Linked DNA regions of Homo sapiens: region 2 is linked to region 1. Evidence: promoter capture Hi-C in 16 types of primary human blood cells and fetal thymus (Javierre and others, 2016). All regions are on one chromosome and are shown on one strand. Each heading gives the region's core, a stretch centred on a gene start or on the middle of the fragment in contact. The rest is flanking DNA. Distances are from core to core; before and after follow the strand shown. Region 1 holds the start of OSTC (oligosaccharyltransferase complex non-catalytic subunit). Region 2 holds the start of CASP6 (caspase 6).

Evidence for each region. Contacts are between HindIII fragments. The CHiCAGO score rates a contact against its expected background, and 5 or more counts as called.
Region 2: the fragment with the promoter of CASP6 here is called in contact with the fragment with the promoter of OSTC in region 1 in 4 of 17 cell types (total CD8 T cells, M1 macrophages, fetal thymus and 1 more); the score reaches 11.7 in total CD8 T cells.

Annotation. Positions count from the first base shown.
Region 1 is chr4:108,647,442-108,652,833 of GRCh38, forward strand. It overlaps OSTC (oligosaccharyltransferase complex non-catalytic subunit), which reads left to right and starts at 3,158. Exons shown (of 4, transcript NM_021227.4): 1 at 3,158-3,353. The coding sequence starts at 3,215. It also overlaps the pseudogene RNU6-431P. RefSeq lists enhancers at 3,098-3,447, 4,062-4,111. The HindIII fragment of the contact is 4,127 bases long and covers 1,114-5,240 here.
Region 2 is chr4:109,701,423-109,706,814 of GRCh38, forward strand. CASP6 (caspase 6) reads right to left here and starts at 2,023. Exons shown (of 7, transcript NM_001226.4): 1 at 1,934-2,023. The coding sequence starts at 1,973. RefSeq lists enhancers at 625-684, 1,445-1,504, 2,395-2,444 and silencers at 1,685-1,794, 1,945-2,234. The HindIII fragment of the contact is 4,197 bases long and covers 1-3,681 here.

The sequences.
Region 1 (5,392 bases), core at 1,908-4,407:
CTCTCTTGTTGCCCAGGCTGGAGTGCAATGGCACGATCTCGGCTCACTGCAACGTCCGCCACTCGGGTTCAAGCCATTCTCCTGCCTCAGCCTTGCAAGTAGCTGGGATTAGAGGCATACACCACCATGCCCAGCTAATTTTGTATTTTTTAGTAAAGATGGGGTTTCATCATGTTAGTCAGGCTGGGTTCGAACTGCTGACCTCAGGTGAGGAGGCCTCCCAAAGTGCTGGGATTACAGGCATGAGCCACCGTGCCCAGCCATTACTTGCATATAATTTTAAAAACAACCTTCAAAATGTAAAATAACTACAACAATAACACCAAACCCCACAATATTGCATTAGAAAGAGTTTTTATTTAGATCATGAGACATAATAGTGCTTCGTACTCATGCTTATACAGAACCTAGCGCGAAAGAACATAATTCAAGACACTGTCAACCAAACTGCAAAATGTCTTCATAAATAAAAATCCAGGTTAATATTAGTATTATTATCCTACAAAAAACAAAGCTACTAATTTCCTCTCCAACACATATTTAAATAAACAGAAATCAACAATATTTGTAGCCTTTGTAATTCTAGTTTGTTTAGAATTTAGTTAAAAACTTATTTGTGGAGCTCTCCCTCTCTTTTGGCTGGCAGAACCATTTCTGACTTCAAGGCTTTTTATTAAAATATTCTACAATGAACACAGAAAGCTTGGTAGATACCATCTTTACACTTTTTTCTTCTTTGAATATATATTTGCTTGTGCACAGTAAGAATTATTAACATTTGCTTTTATATGTAGCTTAAGATGACAGCTCTACTGCATATTATATTGTAAACTGTGTTTCTCTCAACATTTTTCCTTCTTCATCTATAAATAGAAAACCACTGAATGATTGATTATATGTTTATTTAAGGGCATGCTCTAATGCCCACTGCTATATTCATTATTTCTTTGGTTTTCAGTTACAGAGTTTATGTTATGTTTAAATAGAACATTTTTCTGTAGGAATTGTGGGTTAGGACATGGATGATAACAGATATGCATATCTTACTCATGAAAGGTCTCTTTTATACGTGGCTTATAGAATATTACAAACTCATGTTGAAAAATATTTCAAAGCTTAAGAGGTTAAAAAATAATAATGAATTGGTTCCTGGAGCAAACTTACTTTTTGGAAAGTGATAGTAATAATTTAACATATAGATGAATGCAGTGTGTTCTGACTTGGCAGTTTTATTATTTATGAAATTAATTTTTCATTTAAAAATTATATATTAATAATTTATATGTTTTCCACAATGTAGGTAGAAATTATGTGTCCCTAGTATACACAGGAAGAAGGATAAGTATATAAACGTATACCATTTTAAACGTCTTAAATCTATTTACTTCTACAGCAATTGCCTTTTAGGTCTCATCCAGTCACAGACTATACTACACTTTTTGAGTTTATTTCCCTTCCCAGGAGCCACTTTTGTCATATGTAAAGCAGTTATACTAGTATTTACCTAACAGAATTGTCATGAAGAGTATATAAGCACAAATGTAAATCACTTAACATAGTACCTGCCAAGCAGTGGTTAATTAATGTTAGATTCCTTTTTAAGCTATAAAGGAAATTTAAAAACCTTTAATCCCTATGTTTTTCCAAAGCAAAATGTTTTATTTTTATTTTTTTCTTCATACCAAAGCAAAATATTTTAATTGTTCCAAAGTGTTCCTTACTTATAAAACTGTGGGAATTTCAGAAACATTCTGCTTTACAGTGCCCAGAGAAACTTCCTACATATAAACGCTGGTTTTGGTGTAAATGCATTCATTATTGGTGTTATCATTGGCCTTTACATAACCTAAGATTCGTGTGGCTCCGTTAAGACATAGGCAATATGACTCTGGGAGAGACTCTCACTAATGAACAGTAAGGGCAGCAAGCCTCAACTGTACTTAGAATTGGATACTACAATGTTTTGATAGTATTTTCATTACCGTCTTCAAGCAATTTCTTAACAATTGAGTTGTTAGCTAATTAGAAGTGCAGAACCAATACATGGCATCCTGTAAAAATAACCACGGGCTTAGTAACAAGCAAATAAAAAAATATAAAAACATTGGCTCTATAATGTGTCAATATGCTCTGGACTTATGTAATCAGTGACTCTTAACTCTTGCTCCAAAAGGAAGTTAACATTTGTAGAGTCTTAAAAGATTATATAAAAAAGAAAAGCAAAACAGAAAACAAAAAATCTTTTAGACCTTCTAGTCCATCCCTAATGACTAATTCTCCATCATATATTTTCATCTATTTGGATTGTAAATGTTGCCCAGACCAGAGATGGCGGTGGTTCACACTAGGGTGTCAGTGGTGGAATGGTGAGGGGCAGATGAATTGGAGATATTTTGGTAGTACAGCCAAAGAGACCTACTAATATTTTGGATGCAGAAGGTTAGTAAGGAGAGAAATCCAGACGACTTTAAGATTTTTGGCCAGAGGGATTTTACCTTTTAGCGACATACAGATGACCAAGGGAAGAGCAAAGTTGAGAGGATGAGTTATTCAAAATAGTATTATGGTCACGCCAAGCTATCAGCATTAAGGCATCCCTGTAGAGATGTCCTGTTGACATTTGTGATCCAGGCTGGATGTTTAAAAAAAATTGGTAACATATTACTTTAGCAACTATTATTAATTCTTATTATTACCACGACTACATCGGGAAGTAAAAGCTCAGCAGCCTCCGGCTTTTCCTAACCCTTGAAAAAACCTCTAATATAAAAGGCATTTATATCCAAAAGTTCCCATTCATCTCCCGCTCTGGGAACCGGGAGCGCCCCCTGTCCAATCAGCTTTCAAATCCCCTGCGTCAGCGAGTGGGCGGGGCTCACCTAGATTCCTTGGCCTCCGCTTCTCCGGCTTGGCCACGTTAGAAGTCCCGCAGGTCCTTGAAGGTACACAAATCACCTATATATCCATTAGAAAAATGTAGAGTACATTATCACAATGTAAGTTTAATTAGATTAAATAATTTACAACACTTTATTCATATCATTTATTTGTTTTATTTAGTTTCTTATTTTCTTCTATGAGTATAGTAACCACCTCCGAGCTTTACGGATCTGCGGGTCCTTTCCTCGCGCACGCGCACTTGTTAGGGAGGGCGGGCCTGTTTCCGGGAGGCGCGTGGGGCTTGAGGCCGAGAACGGCCCTTGCTGCCACCAACATGGAGACTTTGTACCGTGTCCCGTTCTTAGTGCTCGAATGTCCCAACCTGAAGCTGAAGAAGCCGCCCTGGTTGCACATGCCGTCGGCCATGACTGTGTATGCTCTGGTGGTGGTGTCTTACTTCCTCATCACCGGAGGTAACTCGGGCTGTCGGGCCCGAGAGGCTGAGGAGCGGAGAACTGACCCGCCCCGGGAGGCGCGTCTGTTCCGCTGACTCTCAGCCCCGGGGGAAGCATAGCTCTGCTTTGGATCTTTTCTGAGGGTGGAGGGGAGTTCTGGGGTCCGAAGTGTTAACGTCCAAGTTTATTCGCCTTCACGCCCTGTCTTAAGAGAATTCGTGTTCTCACTCCCATTGCCTTTCTTCTCCTTCTAGCCCTCCCATCCCAGGGATCCGAGTCAAATATATTTTTCAAGGCCAAATTGTTGCTCTTTTTGTTGCTTGCCATACGTTGTTTGATAAATGTCCTGGGAAAGCCTAATTTGGCAAACTCCGTTTCCATGGTTGGTTGTTTGATAAAGGTCCTGGGAAGGTCTAATTTGGCCAACTCCGCTTCCATGGTTGGTCAAGAGCTTGTGGGACTTTTAAACTTATCTTTGTCCTGGAATCTTGGAAGAGACTTGACAATCTTTAGTTTTGTTGGCTCAAACCTAGGGTTCTGTGTTGCCTTTTGCATGACCTACAATAAATATCAATGGAATTTTCTGAAATCACAGGTTTGATAAATATTTGAGATTGGAGATGAGATTTGCAGACGATACTGTATTTCAGTGGGCAGAAGTTGAGAATTAAAAAAATAAGATAAATAGCATTACTATTAAACGCTTCTGAATTGTCTATCATCTTATTCTGTCCTTTTCAAATAGAAAATTGCAAAGGGGCGTTGCCTTATGTACTGGTGAGTTGGCAATCCGGCTAGTCTTTTCAGAGCCACTACCCTTTCAGGCCACAGTTCCAAGATTTACTTAGAACTGTGCTACTGTGTACATTTAGATTTGGGGAAGTGGTGTACTTAACTTGGAAATTATAAAATTAATTTAGATTTTGGGAAGTGGTGTACTTAACCTGGAAATTATAAAATTAAAGCTACGGATTTGGGATAGCAAAAGTAGTTCTACTTTTAAGGGAGTGGCCATATAATTGTTATTTTCATAGATGTTTTGTGAGAATAGTTGGCACTGAAGGGGGAGGATTCAAACTGAGAGAGCTGAGTTCTAGAAAGCACCTTTGAATTTACCTCCTTCCCCCAATCTAGAATAGTGAGAATTAACTTACGTTCATTTAAATAAATTACATTTAAATATTTGAGTTACATTTAAATACTTATTTGGTAACAAGATACTATCTAGCATTGCATTAGCATTAACCATTAACATTTGCTCATCAAGTTAATAGCTACTGTACTGAATAAACAAAATTTAAAATGCATGTGGCTTTTAAAAATAATAGACTTTTAAAAATAAATAATATAGAATAATTCAGTATTATTATTGAGTGCTCGCTTCGGCAGCACATATACTAAAATTGGAATGATAGGGAGAAGATTACCATGGCCCCTGTGCAAGAATGACTCGCAAATTCGTGAAGCGTTCCATATTTTTGCACAGTTCACGAAGGTCGTTGGACAAAAAAAAAGTCATTATTCAATAATAATAATGAATAATGCTAGTTTCTTTCCTGTAACCCTTACTTCCCTTGGAGTCGGATTCTTTGCGAGAAGCCTCAGTTTTCTTTGTGGCCCTCTTTTTTCTCCTGTTGATTATTGTAATGGGGAGATTCTTTGTCCCAACCATTGGGGGAAAGTGGAAAGGTTGCTTTTTAGTGGCCAGGTCTATGAGGTATCTTGTATGATGAATTGGTTTTGCCACTGGAAGGGAAGAAGTCTCTTCTAAAAACTGAGTGCACCTTTATAAATAAACTATTTGTTGCTGACAAATAGTCAGCAAATAGATACTGAGTCCCGTTAAGTTTCAGGCACTAGGTACTGGAGATAATAGAACAAAACATAAGGACCCTGACCTCCTGAAGCTTATAATGTCATAGATGAGACATATTAAATGTCACTTAATTTTTTTGTCCGTTAAAAATGTTCACAAAAACAGGCCAGGCGCAGTGGCTCACGCCTGTAATCCAACACTTTGGGAGCCTGAGCCAGTTGGATCATTTGAGCCCAGGAGT
Region 2 (5,392 bases), core at 773-3,272, 1.1 Mb after region 1:
GACCTCTTTTCACTTTTTTTTTTTGAGACAGAGCCTCCCTCTGTCGCCCAGGCTGCAGTGCAGTGGCGCAATCTTGGCTCACTGCAAGTCCACCTCCAGGTTTCAAGCGATTCTCCTGCCTCAGTCTCCCCAGTAGCTGGGACTAGAGGCGCCCACCACTGTGTCTGGCCCTCTTTTCACTTCTCTTCCTTTGCAGGATAATGTAACTGCCACCTCCTTATTCCTTAAATCAGCTTAGGTTTTACAAAACTAATCATTCCTTTTTTCACCTCACTCTAATTTGATAGTCCCTCCAGATAATCCTGCCAGCTACCATTTGTTGATGGCCTGATGCCTTAGATACCTTATCTCACAGCTCCACAGCTCAGGAACAGGGACAGAGAAAGTGGGCCAGGCGTGCCAAGGTCGGCAAAGTGAAGCTGGGATTGAAAGCCAGCCCACCTACAGATTCCAAAGTCTCTGTAGGCCCATCCCCACGCAGCCCCTCCCACCCGAGACCGGCTACCTTTCTAAACTTTGTTCAACTTCCCAAACGACTTCGGTCATTCTACTGTCATCGTCTTCATTCACTGCACTCTCTATGAAAATCTACCCATCGGCTCCATCAACAATGTATTTAGTAACCCTATGTAGAGTAACCTCCATCAGGCCTAGAACATGCACTGGGGAGTGCGGTGGAGGAAGAAGAGGAAGGGAGCAGGTGAGTGAAGGAAAGCCCCGGCTTCCCGCCCCTAGAGACTGCAACTGGACCCTGCACTGTGCCTCCAGGACAAGGCTACCTATCTACCTCCTCTACGACCATGTGACTTTTACAGCTTGCCTCTGGAGCACCATTTCCTTTGTGCAGCAAAATATAAAGAGTTCTTAAACAAAGGCACTCTAACCAACTGCAGGCGTTTCGTTCTTTTTTTTTTTTTTTCTTCTTGATTCGAAGTCTCACTCTGTCGCCGAGGTTGGAGTGCAGTGGGGCGATCTCGGCTCACTGCAACCTCCACCTCCAGGGTTCAAACGATTCTCTTGTCTCAGCCTCCCCAGTAGCTTGCGCCCAGGCCTGGCTAATTTTTTTGTATTTTTAGTAGAGACGGGGTTTCACCGTGTTAGTTAGGCTGGTCGAGAACTCCCGACCTCTGGTGATCCGCCCGCCTCGGCCTCCCAAAGTGTTGGGATTACAAGGCGTGAGCCACCACGGCCGGCCAACTGCAGGCGTTTCGACCTTTTTGTTTGTTTCACTCTGGCCAGGCTTGAAGTTTCTAAACTTTACCAGTAATAAGTGACAGAACGTACGCTCTTAGCAGTTGATTACTTTGCAGAAAAAAGTTATTGTGGTTTTGGCTCAAACCGACAGACAGCAGCAGGTTTCCTGGATGAAGAAGAGAGATACCGGGGTGTGCTGGCCGCCAGGAACTGGCCGCCTCCAGCTGAAGCCCGGGAGGACCCAGGGTCTTGGCCCGGGCACCCCGCGGGCCTGTTATGTTTTCATTATGACTCGGCGGAACAACCCCTCCTTTTCACTTTTCGAAGTGAGCAAACAAAAGATCCAACCCCCAACATTTCAAACGGCCAGGTGTGGGGGAACGCCAGGCCCGCGTGGGGACAGCCTTTTAAGGTTTAAACAGCCGGGGCGCCCCGAAAGCGCTCATCGCCCCGGAGGACAAAGGCGGCAGGGGCACGCCCCGGCGCCGGCGTCGCTACTCGGGACCGCCAGGAGGCGGCAGCCAGGTCCCCGAGTGTTTCTTAGACTGAAGCGCGAAACCGTCCCCACCCGCCCTGAGCGCTTCAATCCAAGAGTGCAACTTCTCCAGGCCGCCCTGCAAAGCCGAAGGAACCCGCGGCCCCACTCCGGTCCGCGCGCCCGGTCCACTAACCCTCGTTTCCCCTCCAGCCGGAGCAAGACGCAGACCTGCTCGGTGCCCAGTCGACGCCCCCTGCCTACCTGCCGGGTGCCCCCTGCGGAGCCCCGAGGCCGAGCTCATTGCAGCCAAACGCGCAGCCAGACACCTTGCCCTCCTCTTCCTGAAGCCACAGGCTCCCGGGCCCGGCCCCGCCCTCGGCCCTTCCTCGGCGGCCCCGCCCCCTGCCCCCGAGCGTGGGGCCAGTTGGTTCTGATTGCGCGCCGCCCGGGCTCCCGTGGATCGGGCTGGTCCTTCCCAGAGTTAAAGCTCCTCCCAGTCGCTCCGGAGCCCGCGGGGACCAAGAGCGCGGGGGCAGGGAGAGGTACGCGGTCTTCGCCTCCAGGCCCGCTGGGACTAACCGTGCCCTGGGGACATGCCAGTTGCCACCCGGGGGGACACACAGACCGCCTAGCCCGAGGCAATTTCACATCACTTGTGTGAGCTCGGACTCATTTAATCCCAGCTGCCCCAAACATTTGCTATTCCTTACTTTGCTATGCCTGTACTTTCTAGAGGTACAGGCATAGATTGTTTTATACCGCTTAGCAGATACTGCCTGTATTTCAACATTGGCTCGCTTTGTGTCTCTGTGTCACATTTTGGTACTCTCGCAATATTTCAAAATTTTTCATTGTTATTATGTCTGCTGTTGTGATCTGTGATCAGTAATCTTTAATATTATTGCAATTGTTTTGGGGCACCATGAACCGCGCTCATAAAGGAAGGGGAAATTAATCCATAAGCCCTGTATGTGTTTGGACTGTTCCACCGAACTTTCCCTTCTCTCTCCCCCTCCTGGGGCCTCCCTATTCCTGGAAACACAATTTTGAAATTAGGCCAACTAATAATCCTACAAAGGCCTCTAAGTGTCCAAATGAAAGGAAGAGCCTGTCACTTTAAATCAAAAGCAAACATGATTAAGTTAGTGAGGAAGTAATGTTGGTAGGCAGAAAGCTAGGCTTCTTGCTCCAGTTAGCCAAGTTGTGAGTGCAAAGGAGAAAAGCCAAGTCATGAATGCAAAGGAAAAAATTTTGAAGGAAATTAAAAATGCTACTCCAGTAAACACACAAAAGACAATAAAGCTAAACAGCCTTATTGCTGATATGGAGAAAGTTCTAGTTGGTCTGGATAGAAGATAAAAACAGCCACAACATTCCCTTAAGCCAAAGCCTAATCCAGAGCAAGGCCCTAACTCTTCAATTCTATGGAGGCTGAGAGAGGTGAGGGAATTGCAAAAGAAAAGCTGGAAGCTAGCAGAGAGGATGGTTCCTGAGGTTTAAGGAAAGAAACTATCTTCATGACATAAAAGTGCAAGGTGAAGCAGCAGGTGCTAACGTAGAAGCTGCATCAGGTTATCCAGATCTAGCTAAAATCATTGATAAAGGCAGCTACACTAAACAACAATCTTTTGTTTTTGAGACAGTCTTGCTTTGTCACCAAGGCTGGAGTACAGTGGTGCGATCTTTTGCAACCTCTGCCTCCTGGGTTCAAACGATTCTTCTGCCTCAGCCTCCCAAGTAACTGGGATTACAGGATGTGCCACCATGTCCAGGTTAATTTTGTATTTTTAGTAGAGACAGAGTTTCACCATGTTTGGCCAGGCTGGTCTTGAACTCCTGACCTTGAGCAATCTGCCCGCCTCGGTCTCCCAAAGTGCTGGGATTACAGGTGTGAGCCACCGTGCCCAGCCAAAACAACAGATCTTAAATGTATATGAAACGGCCTTCTATTGGAAGAAGATTCCATCTAAGACTTTCATAGCTAGAGAGAAGTCAATGCCTGTCTTCAAAGCTTCAAAGAACAGGCTGATGCTCTTGTTAGGGGCTAATACAACTGATGACTTTAAAGCCAACATTCCTTTACCATTCTGAAAATCCTAGTGCCCTTAAGAATTATGCTAAATATGATCTATAAATGGACCAACAAAGGCTAGTTAGTGACAGCACATCTATTTACAGCATGGCTTAGAGAATATTTAAAGCCCACTGTTGAGCTCTAGTGCTCAGAAGAAAGGTTCCTTTCAAAATATTACTCCTCATTGACAATACACCTGGTCATCCAAGAGTTCTGATAGAGATGTACAGAGACTGATGCTGTTATCGTGCTTGCTAACACAACATCCATTCTGAAGCCCAGGGATCAAGGAGAAATTTTGACTTTCAAGTCTTATTTACAAAATACATTTCATAAGGCTATAGCTGTCATCATGATTCCTCTGATAGTTCTGAGCAAAGTAAATTGAAAATCTTCTGGAAAGGATTCATCATTCGAGATGCCATTAAGAACATTTGTGATTCATGGGAGGTCAAAATATCCACTTACGGTATGTAACTAGAGACTAGAGGGGGAAAAAAAGAAAAACGAAAAATTAAAAGTACATGTATCAGCCACAGTGGCTCATGCCTGTAAACCCAGCACTTTGGGAGGCCAAGGTGGATTGCTTGAGGCCAGGAGTTTTGAGACCAGCCTAGGCAACAATGCAAGACCCTGTCTCTACAATTTTTTTTTTTTTTTAATTAGCCAAGAGTGGTGGCACATGCCTGTATTCCCAGCAACTCAGGACACTAAGATGGCAGGATTATTTGAGCCCAAGTTTGAGGCTGCAGTCAGCTGACTGTGCCACTGCACTCCAGTCTGGGTGACAGAGTAAGACACTCTTTAAAAAAAAAAAAAAAAAAAAAAAAAAAATATATATATATATATATATATATATATATAATATATATAAAATACATATATAAATATTTAAAAATTATATATATTTCAATTGGCACACTGGGTGGTATTTTACAGGCAGGACAACATACCTATCCATTTTATATATATATATATATATATATATATATATATATATATACACACACACATATACACACACACATACATTATACATAGGTATATGCATATATCTCCACATTAACAGGAGTTTGAAAGAAGTTAATTCCAATCCTCATCACTGATGTTGAGGGGTTCAAGACTTCAGTGAGGGAAGTCACTGTAGATGTGGCAGAAGTAGCAAGACAAATAGAATTGGAAGTGGGGCCTGAAAATGTGGCTGCATTGTTGCCATCTCATGATAAAACTTTGATAGATGAGGAGATGCTTTTTACGGATGAGCAAAGAAAGTGGTTTATTGAGATAGAATCTACTCCTGGTGAATATGCTGTGAATTGTGTTTAAATGACAACAAAGGATTCAGGGTATTAGTTGACAAAGCAGTGGCAGGGTTTGGGGGGATTGACCCCAATTTTGAAAGAAGGTCTGTGGATAAAATGCTACCAAACAGCATCACATGCTACAGGGAAATCTTTAGTGAATGGAACAATCAATGGATGGCCAGGTGCAGTGGCTCATGCCTGTAATCCCAGGACTTTGGGAGGCCAGGAGTTCGAGCCCAGACTGGCCAACATGGCAAAACCCTGTCTCTACTAAAAATAACAAAAATTAGCCGGGCACGGTGGCAGGCACCTGTAATCCCAGCTACTCAGGAGGCTGAGGCA